2 separate regions of the Homo sapiens genome follow, and region 2 is linked to region 1. The links are contacts of gene promoters, found by promoter capture Hi-C in human tissues and cell types (Jung and others, 2019). All regions are on one chromosome and are shown on one strand. The core of a region is centred on a gene start or on the middle of the fragment in contact, and the rest is flanking DNA. Distances in the headings are between cores, read along the strand shown. Region 1 holds the start of TRPV4 (transient receptor potential cation channel subfamily V member 4). Region 2 overlaps FAM222A (family with sequence similarity 222 member A).

Region 1 (4,922 bases), core at 1-2,500:
GCTAAGGGACCAGGCCAAGGTCACACAGCAGGGGACTGCAGAGCACACCCCGGGCCCCACACAGGCCCGCTCTTAGCCCCGCAGATAACCCAGGCCTGACCTTTCTACCCTTGTTCCCCCAAAAGCCCACCTCGTCACCCTCCTCAGGAGCCCGGGGAGTCCCGACTTACCCTCTGCCCTTGCTCCGGAGCCAAAGTGGCAAAGCTTAAATCCTCAAGCGGTTCTTAGCATCCCAGAACAAAGCTCCCACAGGGTATCTGCCTAACATTTCAGGGGTTCACGGCCCCTCTGCCCCCAGCAGAGGCTCTTGTTTTAGAAGCTGAGCCAGAACAGCCACAGGGCCCACCTCTGCCCTGCCACTTCCCAAGCACCCCGGGGGCACCAGGCCCTGTGTGCAGAGCTGGCCCCAGGACAGGCCACCTGGTGTGGTGGGAAGGGCTTTGGGGCTGGATAGTCCCTGGGTTTAAATCCCAATTGTCTAGATCCCCGACCTAAGCCTCAGTTTCCCCATCTGCAAAACAGAGAGGACAGACAGAGGGAACAGCTGGGGCAGGCTGGAGCAGTGGGTGGCTCGATGAATGCATCTGTGGTTGGTGTTTCCAGGCAAGCGGGGAGTGTGGGAGTCTCTCTCTCCCCCACCCCCACCCCCGCTACCCACCCCCAGGAGCCACCCGCCCCCGGGACGTCCTGAGAGTCCAGGGCAGAACTAGAGGTTAAAGATTTTCATGCCTCTTGGAGGAAACAGCCGTCTCTCCGGGACTCAGTAACCAAGAAGAAGCCTTTGGAAGCTCCAGACTCCAAATTCCCTCCGACATGCTCAGGGGCCAAGGGCAAACCTTAGGTCCCCCGAAATCCCTCTTCCAAGTCTCCTAAGGTGGGCTGCAAGGCTCCGGGCCTTTGGTTCCCTGGCTTGGGGTCTCAGGGAACCGAACCGCCCTCCCCCCAGACCTGCTACCCCAGGCCCCACGTTGGTGCCCATTTCACAGGTGATAAAACCGAGACCCAAAGAGCCGGTGTCCGGCCCAAGGGCACTTAGCTGAGAGGCTGGCGCCTGCGGAACCTGGTGCCTTCCGTCTCCCGCGCCCCTGGCCCGCATTTTGGAGCCTCGGGACCCCCCGGAGCCGGACGGGCCACGGAGATGTCCCCAGGGGCGCGAGGGGACCTCGGCTGAGCCGCCCCTCCCGGGCCCGGGCCCCACTTACCTCCGGGACGGCTGGGCGCCGGCGGCCGGGAGATCCGCGCTTCCTGAATCCCGGCCGGCCCGCCCGGCGCCCGTCCGCCCGCGGGTCCCTCCTCCGCCGGCTCAGGTTCCAGCCGCGCGCCGCCCCCGGCCAGCTCCCCGCCCACCCGCCGGCTCGCGGACCCCGCCGAGCGCAGGCCCTAGAAGGGGCGGCCCCTACTCGCACCCCGCCCGCCCAGCGAGGGCCTCCCCTGCGGGGGAGGTGCAGGGCCAGGGCCTCAGTTTCCTCGCCTGGAAAATGGGTGTCGCGATCCCCGGATAGAGCGGCAGACGGTCTTTGGAGAGGGCTCTAGTTGGAATCGGCTCCGATTCGATCTTGCTCCGTGACTTCGGGCCGCCCTGGGACTGTGTCCTAGTCTCTAAATGGGCGTCCCGGCCCAGTCCTCCACGTGTTTGCTCATTCATTCATTCAGCAGACAATTTCCTCCGAGGCGTTGAAGGAGGTCCCTACCCTCGGGTATGGCCCATAGAGATGGTTCAGGGGTAAATAAATGTGAGCTGCTCTCCTTGGTCTTCACCCAGTGCTTACTGCGAAGCCTGCCTCGGAGTAGGCCATCAATGTTTTGTTGCTGTTGTTTTTGAGACAGGGTCTCACTCTGTTGCCCAGGCTGGAGTGCGGTGGCGTGATCAGGAATCACTGCAGCCTCAACCACCAGCGTTCAAGCAATCCTCCCGTATCAGCCTCCCTAGTAACTGAGACCACAGACGCCTACCACCATGCTTGGCTAATTTTATTTAAATTTTTTGCAGAGATAGGGTCTCACTATGTTGCCTAGGCTGGTCTCAAACTCCAGGCTCAAGCGATCTACCCACCTCGGCCTCCCAAAGTGCTGGGATTAGAGGTCTGAGTCACCGTGCCTGGCTCAATGCGTTTTTGTTTATTTTTTTTATTATTATTATTATTTTTGATACATGTTCTCCCTTTGTCACCCAGGTTGAAGTGCAGTGGCATGATCACGGCTCACTACAGCCTCAAACTCCTGGCCTCAAGAGATCCTCCCACCTCAGCCTCCTGAGCAGCTGGGAGTACAGGCATGCGCCACCACACCCCACTAATTTTTATTTTTTTGTAGAAGGGGGGGTGGGGGAGGGCAGCCGGTCTACAACTCCTGGCCTCAAGTGATCCTCCCACTTCAGTCTCCCAAAGCACTGAGAGTATAGGCATGAGCCACCACACCTACCCATGTATTTTCTTTTATCAGATAACAAAGGTGGGCCCCAACACATAGCCATACCCTCTACCCAGCACTGAGTCCACTTGAATACCTCCACAGGATGGGCAGCTCACTTCCTCCAGGGTGGTTGGAAAGCCTAGCAGGCCCACAGCTTGGCTCTGTGACTCTCTAACCCAGCAGCCCTATGCAAGTCCCTTCACCTTTGTGCCTCAGTGCCTCTACATCCCCCTGTAGAGTGGGGCATACAAAAGTCCTCACCTCACAGTCGCAGTGAAGATGCTGGGAGCATCCAGGCTGTGCAGAGCCCTTTTTTTTTTTTTTTTGAGACAGAGTCTTACTCTGTCGCCCAGGCTGGAGTTCAGGGGTGTGATCTCAGCTCACTGCAACCTCTGCCTCCTGAGTTCAAGCGATTCTCCTGCCTCAGCCTCCTGGGGGCTGGGATTACAGGCATGCGCCACCACGCCAGGCTAATTTTTTGTATTTTTAGTAGAGACAGGGTTTCACCATGTTGGCCAGGCTGGTCTTGAACCCCTGACCTCAGTTGATCCACCCACTTTGGCCTCCCAAAGTGCTGGGATTACAGGTGTGAGCCGCCGTGCCCGGCCCAGAGCCATGCCATTTTCATCATTAGTGTTTTCACTAAATTGAGCTGACTCAGGGACTGTGGGGTAGCTCCTTCCTCCTCAGCTTGAAAATAGCAGCATCTCTCCTGAGGTCCAACAGCTGGAAAGTGAAATTTTAGAATTGCTGGGTGGGGAGGCGAAAGAGAGAGAGAGAGAGTGTGTGTGTGTGTGTACCCCTGAATAGGAGTGATGTGTTCACCTCCAGCGTGAAACATTTACAAAGAAACAAACCCTAATAATTAACTCACTGAGCACAGAAGCCTAGGGGATGAGAGGGAGAACAGGCTGTGAGGTAGGGTTTGCTCTACCCATTTTGCAAGTGGGAAACTGAGGCTTGGAGAGGAGTATGGCCTCTCCAAAAGCTGCTCCCTCCATGGTGGGGGTTGGGGTGGGAAAGAGAACCCTCTGAGGGTCCGGAGTAAACAGGCAGATGTCTGGCAGTGGAGAGGAAGGTAAACACAGGGCCCCTCACACCTCCCTGACAGACAGCTATCTGCTGGGGGCCCTCAGGGCTGGGGCTGGGGCTGGGCCAGGTTGAGAGTGGAGGAGTGAGTCTGGGACCCATTTCTGCAGAAAGGCCTGTCTCAATTTAAAGAAAATGGCAAGGGTGATTCCAGCCATAAGGCAGCTGATGTTGGGGACTGGAACTGGGGGAGATGGGGCCAGGGATGGCGACCTCCTCTTCTCTAAGCTCAGAGGGAAGGGGCCTGAGCGCTCAGCATCATCATCACTAACCCAGCTCTTTCCTGATCCCCATTTCACAGATGGGGCAACTGAGGCCCCCATGTAGGGAAGTGACTCATCTTGGGCTAAGCAGCTGGAGCTTGGCCTCTGCACCAGACACTGGGGTTCAAATCCTGCCCTGCCGCTGATGGGAGAAGGAGCTGTGGTGGGAGCTGTGGGCAAGAGCCTCCCTCTCTCTCTGTGCCTCAGTTTCCTCACCTAAAAAATGGGTACCAGTGTCCATGAAGCAAGGGAACGTGTTCATGACCACAGGTCTAGCACCTGGCACTTAGTAGGTGCTTTAAAAATACTGGTTGATGGGTCAGGCGAAGTGGCTCATGCCTGTAATCCCAGCACTTTGGGAGGCTGAAGTGGGCAGATCAACTGAGGTCAGGAGTTCGAGACCAGCCTGGCCAACATGATGAAACCCCGTCTCCACTAAAAATACAAAAATTAGTTGGGCATGGTGGTGGGCACCTGTAATCCCAGCTACCTGGGAGGCTGAGACAGAATTGCTTGAACCTGGGAGAGGGAGGTTGCAGTGAGCAGAGATCGTGCCACTGCACTCCAGCCTGGGCAACAGAGAGCGACTCCATCTCAAAAAAAAAAAAAGTCCTGGTTGATGGAGCTGGGGGAGAGGAGAATGGGAGGTTGCTGTTTGTTGGGCGTAGGGTTTCAGTTTTGCAAGATGCAAAGAGTTCTGGAGATGAACGAGGGTCACACAACAATATGAATATACTTTTTAAGTTTAATTTTTAATCTTTTTTTTTTTATTTTTAGAGAGAGACAGGGTATTGCTCTGTAGCCCAGGCTGTAGTGCAGTTGCCTGCTCATAGCTCACTGCAGCCTCAAATTCCTAGGTTCAAGCGATCCTCCTGCCTCAGCCTCCTGAATAGCTGGGACTATAGGTGTGTGTCACCAAGCCTGGCTTTTTAAATTTTATTTTTTGTACAGGTGAGGTCTCGCTATGCTGCCCAAGCTGGTCTCAAACTCCCGTGCTCAAGTGATCCTCATAACCTGGCCTCTCAAAACATTGGGATTACAGGCATGAGCCACTGTGCCTAGCCAGAAATAATGTTTCCTCTTAGGGAAGGAAAAACTTTCAAGGCCCTCAGCATTGGCTGTGAGTCATGTGGCAGCCACATGTGGGGCGCAGCCTTG
Region 2 (4,899 bases), core at 1,586-4,085, 110 kb before region 1:
GTAATCATGCCTGGATACAGGTCACCAGACTAGTACCTTCCAGAGTTTACGTCATAACCCTAAGAAATGCACATGCTGGTACCACCCCCATTTTGCTGAGAAGCAGGGGCCCAGAGAAGGTATTATACTTTGCTGCCCGAGGTCACACAGCCAGGGAGTGGCAGAAGTATGAGGTTCATTGGCAGCCAGAGATGGGAAGGCAGAGGCGGGGTTCCAGCTTCCCACTCCTCTTCCCACCCACTCGTGGTTCCATTCGGTAAAACCAGGCTTTAGGTAAAGACTGAGCAAGGACACCCTGTCGCCCGTGTCCCAGTGGTCAAGTGATAAGAAATCAGATGGCCCACAGCCTCTAGAGGGAGTAAGATGAGTCTGCAGTTAACTGGAATTCTAGACAGGGCTGGAGCAGGGCTGGAGGAGGGAAAACCTGCAGCTGGTCCTGGAGGGCTTCCTGACAAAGCGGGCTGTGCTCTGTGCCCTGAGGACTGAGTGGCTCTCCCCAGCATGGAGTAAATGGGGGTGTCTCTGGCAGAGGGAGTTTGGAGACCCGGGAGCATGACCAGGAAGGGCAGGGGGAGCTTATAAGATGGTGGAGGTGAAAGGGAGATTAGGAGGGTGTGCAGGGGGCATCGGGTGCTGAGCTAAGGGTGCTGTGAGGCCCTGAGGAAGAGGGAAGCCAGTGAAAGCATCTGAGAGGCAGGGGCCAGCTAAGATCCCAGTGCCTTAGAGGCCAACAGAGAGCTTGGGAGTCGCAGACCTGGGCTGAAACCCGGTGAGAGAGAGCACCTGCACTCTCACTGGCTGTGTCCTCAGAGAAATTATTTTACCCCTCTGTGCCTCAGTTTCCTCTTGTTCAGGAGAGTCTCAACAGCTTTCTCATGGGCTTGTGGGTGGGGTGAGCTTGCATGTGCATAGTGCTTGCAGGGGGCTTAGCTGAGCCCCTCAGAGCTGGGTGGGCTGGGCTTGAATACAGGCCTGGGCCAGTCCTGGCCCCACAGCAAGCCAGCATCCCAGCCGCAGCAGCTGTTTGGGGCCCTGGGGGCCCCTGCTATTGTGCAGAGGGCACAGGGGACAAAGGCCTGGGAGGTCAGGGGGTGAGGCCGAGACTAGCTGTGAACAGGCTCCCGGGGATGGGGACTTAATGACGCAGAACTTAATGACCCAGAGTCTGTGGGGAGGGGGGCCTCCCTTGGAGGAGGAGGGAGGTCCAGCCACCAGCTGTCTGCTCCAGGATTCGCTGCCAGGGCACGGGCAGCTGCCTCACAGAGTCCAGGCCTGAGCTTGGCACTGGGGGAGGCAGAGGTGGCAGGGCCTCCTGGCATGAAATCCCCAGGCCTGAATGCAGGGCTTGGCCCTGCCCCTCGGCATCTGCAGATCTCCGTCTCTTCATCTGTGATGGGCCAAGGGACCACCTTAGAGGGCAGCTGTGAGGTTTGGCAGTAACCGATAGCCAATGGGCAGTAAACAGGAACTGCTATTTTTGCTCTTTATCCATCCGTTCATTCAGAGAGCTTCCCTGCTCCAGGCCAGGCTCCCTGCCAGATGCTGGGGACATGAAGATGAACAAGCCCCAGTTGCCTTGAAAGGTGGTGTGTACCTACCGAGGGAGAGGCCTCGAGTGCACCCCCTCAGCCACCCAACAAGTGCATGTGGGTTAATTGCCACAATGGAGGAATTCACAGTATGTGGGCACTGTGCCAGGGGCAGGGGGGCACAGCAGTGAACAAGCCAGACGTGGGCCCTGCCCTGGGCCACCACCAGTCTCTCAAAGGAAATCAGAGGTGGAAACAATTACTTCTGGCTGGAGTAGCCAGGGAGGGCTCCCTGGAGGAGGTGGCACTTGTAATTGAATACTTTTGCCTATTATGAGAATCACAGGACACTGGTATCTGCTGTGTGCCAGACTGAGTTTCCTACTTTGGCATTTTGTTCTCTCATTTAATCCTCATATCCCTCTCTGAAGGGTGTTTTTATCCCTGTCATGTGAATGAAGAAACTTAGCCTGATGATGTGAAGCAGCAGCCCTGGGCCACATGGCAGGCCCACAGAACCCCCTTCATTATCCACACAAGCTTTTGCCTCTTCACTGCCTGTAAGGGTACTGGGCATGGTAGGATCCTCGGGCAGGGGCCGAGGGGACGCTGTTCTGGGCCAGCTGTCTCCTTTATGAGCTTCACGACCTTCAGCAGGTCACCTTCCCCCACCCCTCCCAACCCAGACTCAGCCGCGTCCTTCATAAATGTCAAGGATGGCAAATCTGTGGCAGGCCTGGCTTGCCTTATGCCGCTGTGCCCTTGGCAGACATTGCCAATCAATTGCTGCCCTCTTTCCCTGCTGAGTTCTTCCCCTGACCTTGGGTTCCTTCCAGGGCTCTGGGCAGGCAGCGCCAATCAATCAGCAGGGCCTGTGAGCTGAAACCAGTTGCCTGCCTGGCCTCAATGAGCTCAGGGTGCCTCTGGCCCGTCTCCATGTGGCTCAGAGGACCAGGGGGGACAGCGAGGGATTCTAGGGGATCTCTGTGTATCCAGGTTGTTCTTAAGCCACAAAAGCCTTTTAGGTGGGAGGGTCTGTTACCCTCTTCTAACTCCCACTTGTGTTCATCCATGCAGATTCCGAGCACTGACAGTCTGGATGATGATAACAGCATGTATTTAGTTCTTCCTGAGAGCTAGGTCCTTCCTGGGCACTCTCTCGTTCATCATTCTGCAGAACACCTGCAGCAAGCCTCCCTGCACCTCCAGGGAGAATTCTTAACCCATTTTAGAGATGAGGGAACTGAGGCTTGGCTCAGCTAAGCAGAGTAGGGTCACGCACTTGTTGGGTGGCCGAGCTGGCATTCAGACCCAAGTCTGAAAGTTCACAGCCTGGGACAGGGCTGTAGGTGGCAGGCAGACAGGGGAGCCCTCCCAGAAAAGATGTCATTTTTTTGGAGGCTTTAAAGGCTGGTGGGCTTCTGACGGGCAGAGCCAGGAAGGGTGAACGTCCGGGTGGAGGGAACAGCATGAGAGGCAGCTCAGAGGCAGGCAGGTGAGAGTGTTTACTAAGGGAGCAGTGTGTAACCAGATGTGGCTAGAATGTGGAGAGAGAGGACTGTGGAAGGAGCCAGGGCTGGCCTGGATGTTTGGACTTTGCTTTCCCATAGTAGGGAGCTCTGGCAGCTCTTTCAGCAGAGTAACAGTGAGGTCCCGTCTAAGAGTACTTATTCAACAGCTCTGTGAATCCTGGGTGAGGTTGCTTGGGGGGCTACCTTCAGTCTACTAGAAGCTTTGGCCTAGAACAGTGCCTAGTGCACAGTAGGTAGACATCCAAGAAGTATTGATTGAATGAATAAATGAATGAAGACTCCCCGGACTAAAATGCTCCTGACCTCCCCAGGGGCCCAGCTGCAAGGAGGGGAGAGACCAGAGTCCTCCTCTCCAGGCAAAGTTGAACACCAGGCCTGGCAGTGACGGGCAGGAGAAGGGGCCAGGCAGGTACCTGGGACAGGGCTTCCCCTTCACCACTCCCCTACCCTGCTGCCTGTCCCCAGGACCCCTCCTAGACCTTCCTGCTGGGCTGTCTGCACCTTTCGAGCCACACCTGGCGGGCAGTGTGGGCCCAGCGCTTGGGGGGATGAAAGATGAAGGTTCGTGACCATTTTTTAACTCAATAAAGGGAGAGACAAGCTGCAGGCTGCAGGCCGGAGATATAATTAGTTCACAGCAGTGGCGCTTTCTTGATTTAGCTTCTGAGAGAACAAGACAAGGATGTTATACCCAATTAGCAGTAACATCCAGTCGGAGCCTCAATAGGTGAGATAACAAGCTATTTTTATGACTTTTCTTTCCCAGCTTGGAGGGAGCGGGTGGGGGGGGGAGGGGGTATCAGGGCCTTATTTCTTTTCATCAGGGAACAATTATTAGCGATCTCAGGATTTCCCAAAGCCAAATGATGCATTTGTTAACCCAAACATGCAAGCATCCCAGGGTAGCAGCAGGGGTGGCAAGCTGGCATTTTGAGCCCGGGGTGGATGGGAGGGGTGCAGGCCACTAGCCTCTATTCTGGAAGCCCTCTGAAAAGGTTCCCAAATGTGGGCAGCAGAAGCGCAGGCCCTTGAGATATTCTTAGTATTTGCCTTGATTTCCCTACCTGCGTTCAAAGGGACATAAGGAGGCCAGGCCAGTTTCCCTGGGGATGAGGAAGGAGCCAGTTTTGGCCCTTGGCAGCCCTTCTTGGCACCACTGTAGATTCTTTCTGCCAACTAGGCCGGAGGTTCTGGCACCTCAGTCTTGAACCTGCCATTGCACTTTGCCCACCCAACCCCCATTATGGTTCGCCCCACCCAGCCACCCTTCTCCTGTCCTGGGTCCCGGGCCCAGTCCCTGGCAGGGCCAGACTGGTGATTAGCTCCTTTCTCTCCATCATTAGACCCGCAGTCAGGGCACCCAGCACTGGCCAAGTCCCTACTGGGCAGGGAAGCCCTGCCAAGCCCCACCCCAGCTGCCTGGCTGTGCTCCCACTCCTGGCGAAGGCTGGGGGATGCCCGGAGAGGGAGCTGGCAGGGCTGCTGTGATGCCGCATCGCATCGGCCTGGGCCCCAAGCCCAGAGCAGGTTCCTGGGCCTCCGCCCCTCCTCCTGAATCTTGTCCCGCCCTGTCCCACGTCCCATCTTCCTGTCAGTGTGGAGCTCCCCACTCCCGGTTCAGACAACTGACAAATCCAGCCATGCAAAGTGGGAGTTTAATTGCAAACAGTTTTTACGGATCATGGGCCCATCTGTGCCACCATATGCAAAAGAGAAAAAAAAATCCCCTTTTTTTTTCTCCCCACCCCACAAACTACAAAAGAAACAATTGCCAAGGTTTTTCTAGCTGGAAGCAAGCACAGAGCTGGGACCCATCCCCGGGGGCTTCCTGCAGGGTG

The links. Contacts are between HindIII fragments. The study calls those that stand out against the background at their distance.
Region 2: a fragment that was not itself captured here is called in contact with the fragment with the promoter of TRPV4 in region 1 in 2 of the 25 tissues and cell types used here (IMR-90 fibroblasts and adrenal gland).

The regions. Positions count from the first base shown.
Region 1 is chr12:109,832,148-109,837,069 of GRCh38, forward strand. It overlaps TRPV4 (transient receptor potential cation channel subfamily V member 4), which reads right to left and starts at 1,251. Exons shown (of 16, transcript NM_021625.5): 1 at 1,203-1,251. MIR4497 (microRNA 4497) reads left to right here and starts at 1,201; the gene lies at 1,201-1,289. The HindIII fragment of the contact is 21,611 bases long and covers 1-4,922 here.
Region 2 is chr12:109,719,160-109,724,058 of GRCh38, forward strand. The region is part of intron 1 of FAM222A (family with sequence similarity 222 member A); the gene reads left to right. Among named protein-coding and RNA genes, the nearest start is that of FAM222A, 7.8 kb to the left of the region's middle. The HindIII fragment of the contact is 6,122 bases long and covers 1-4,899 here.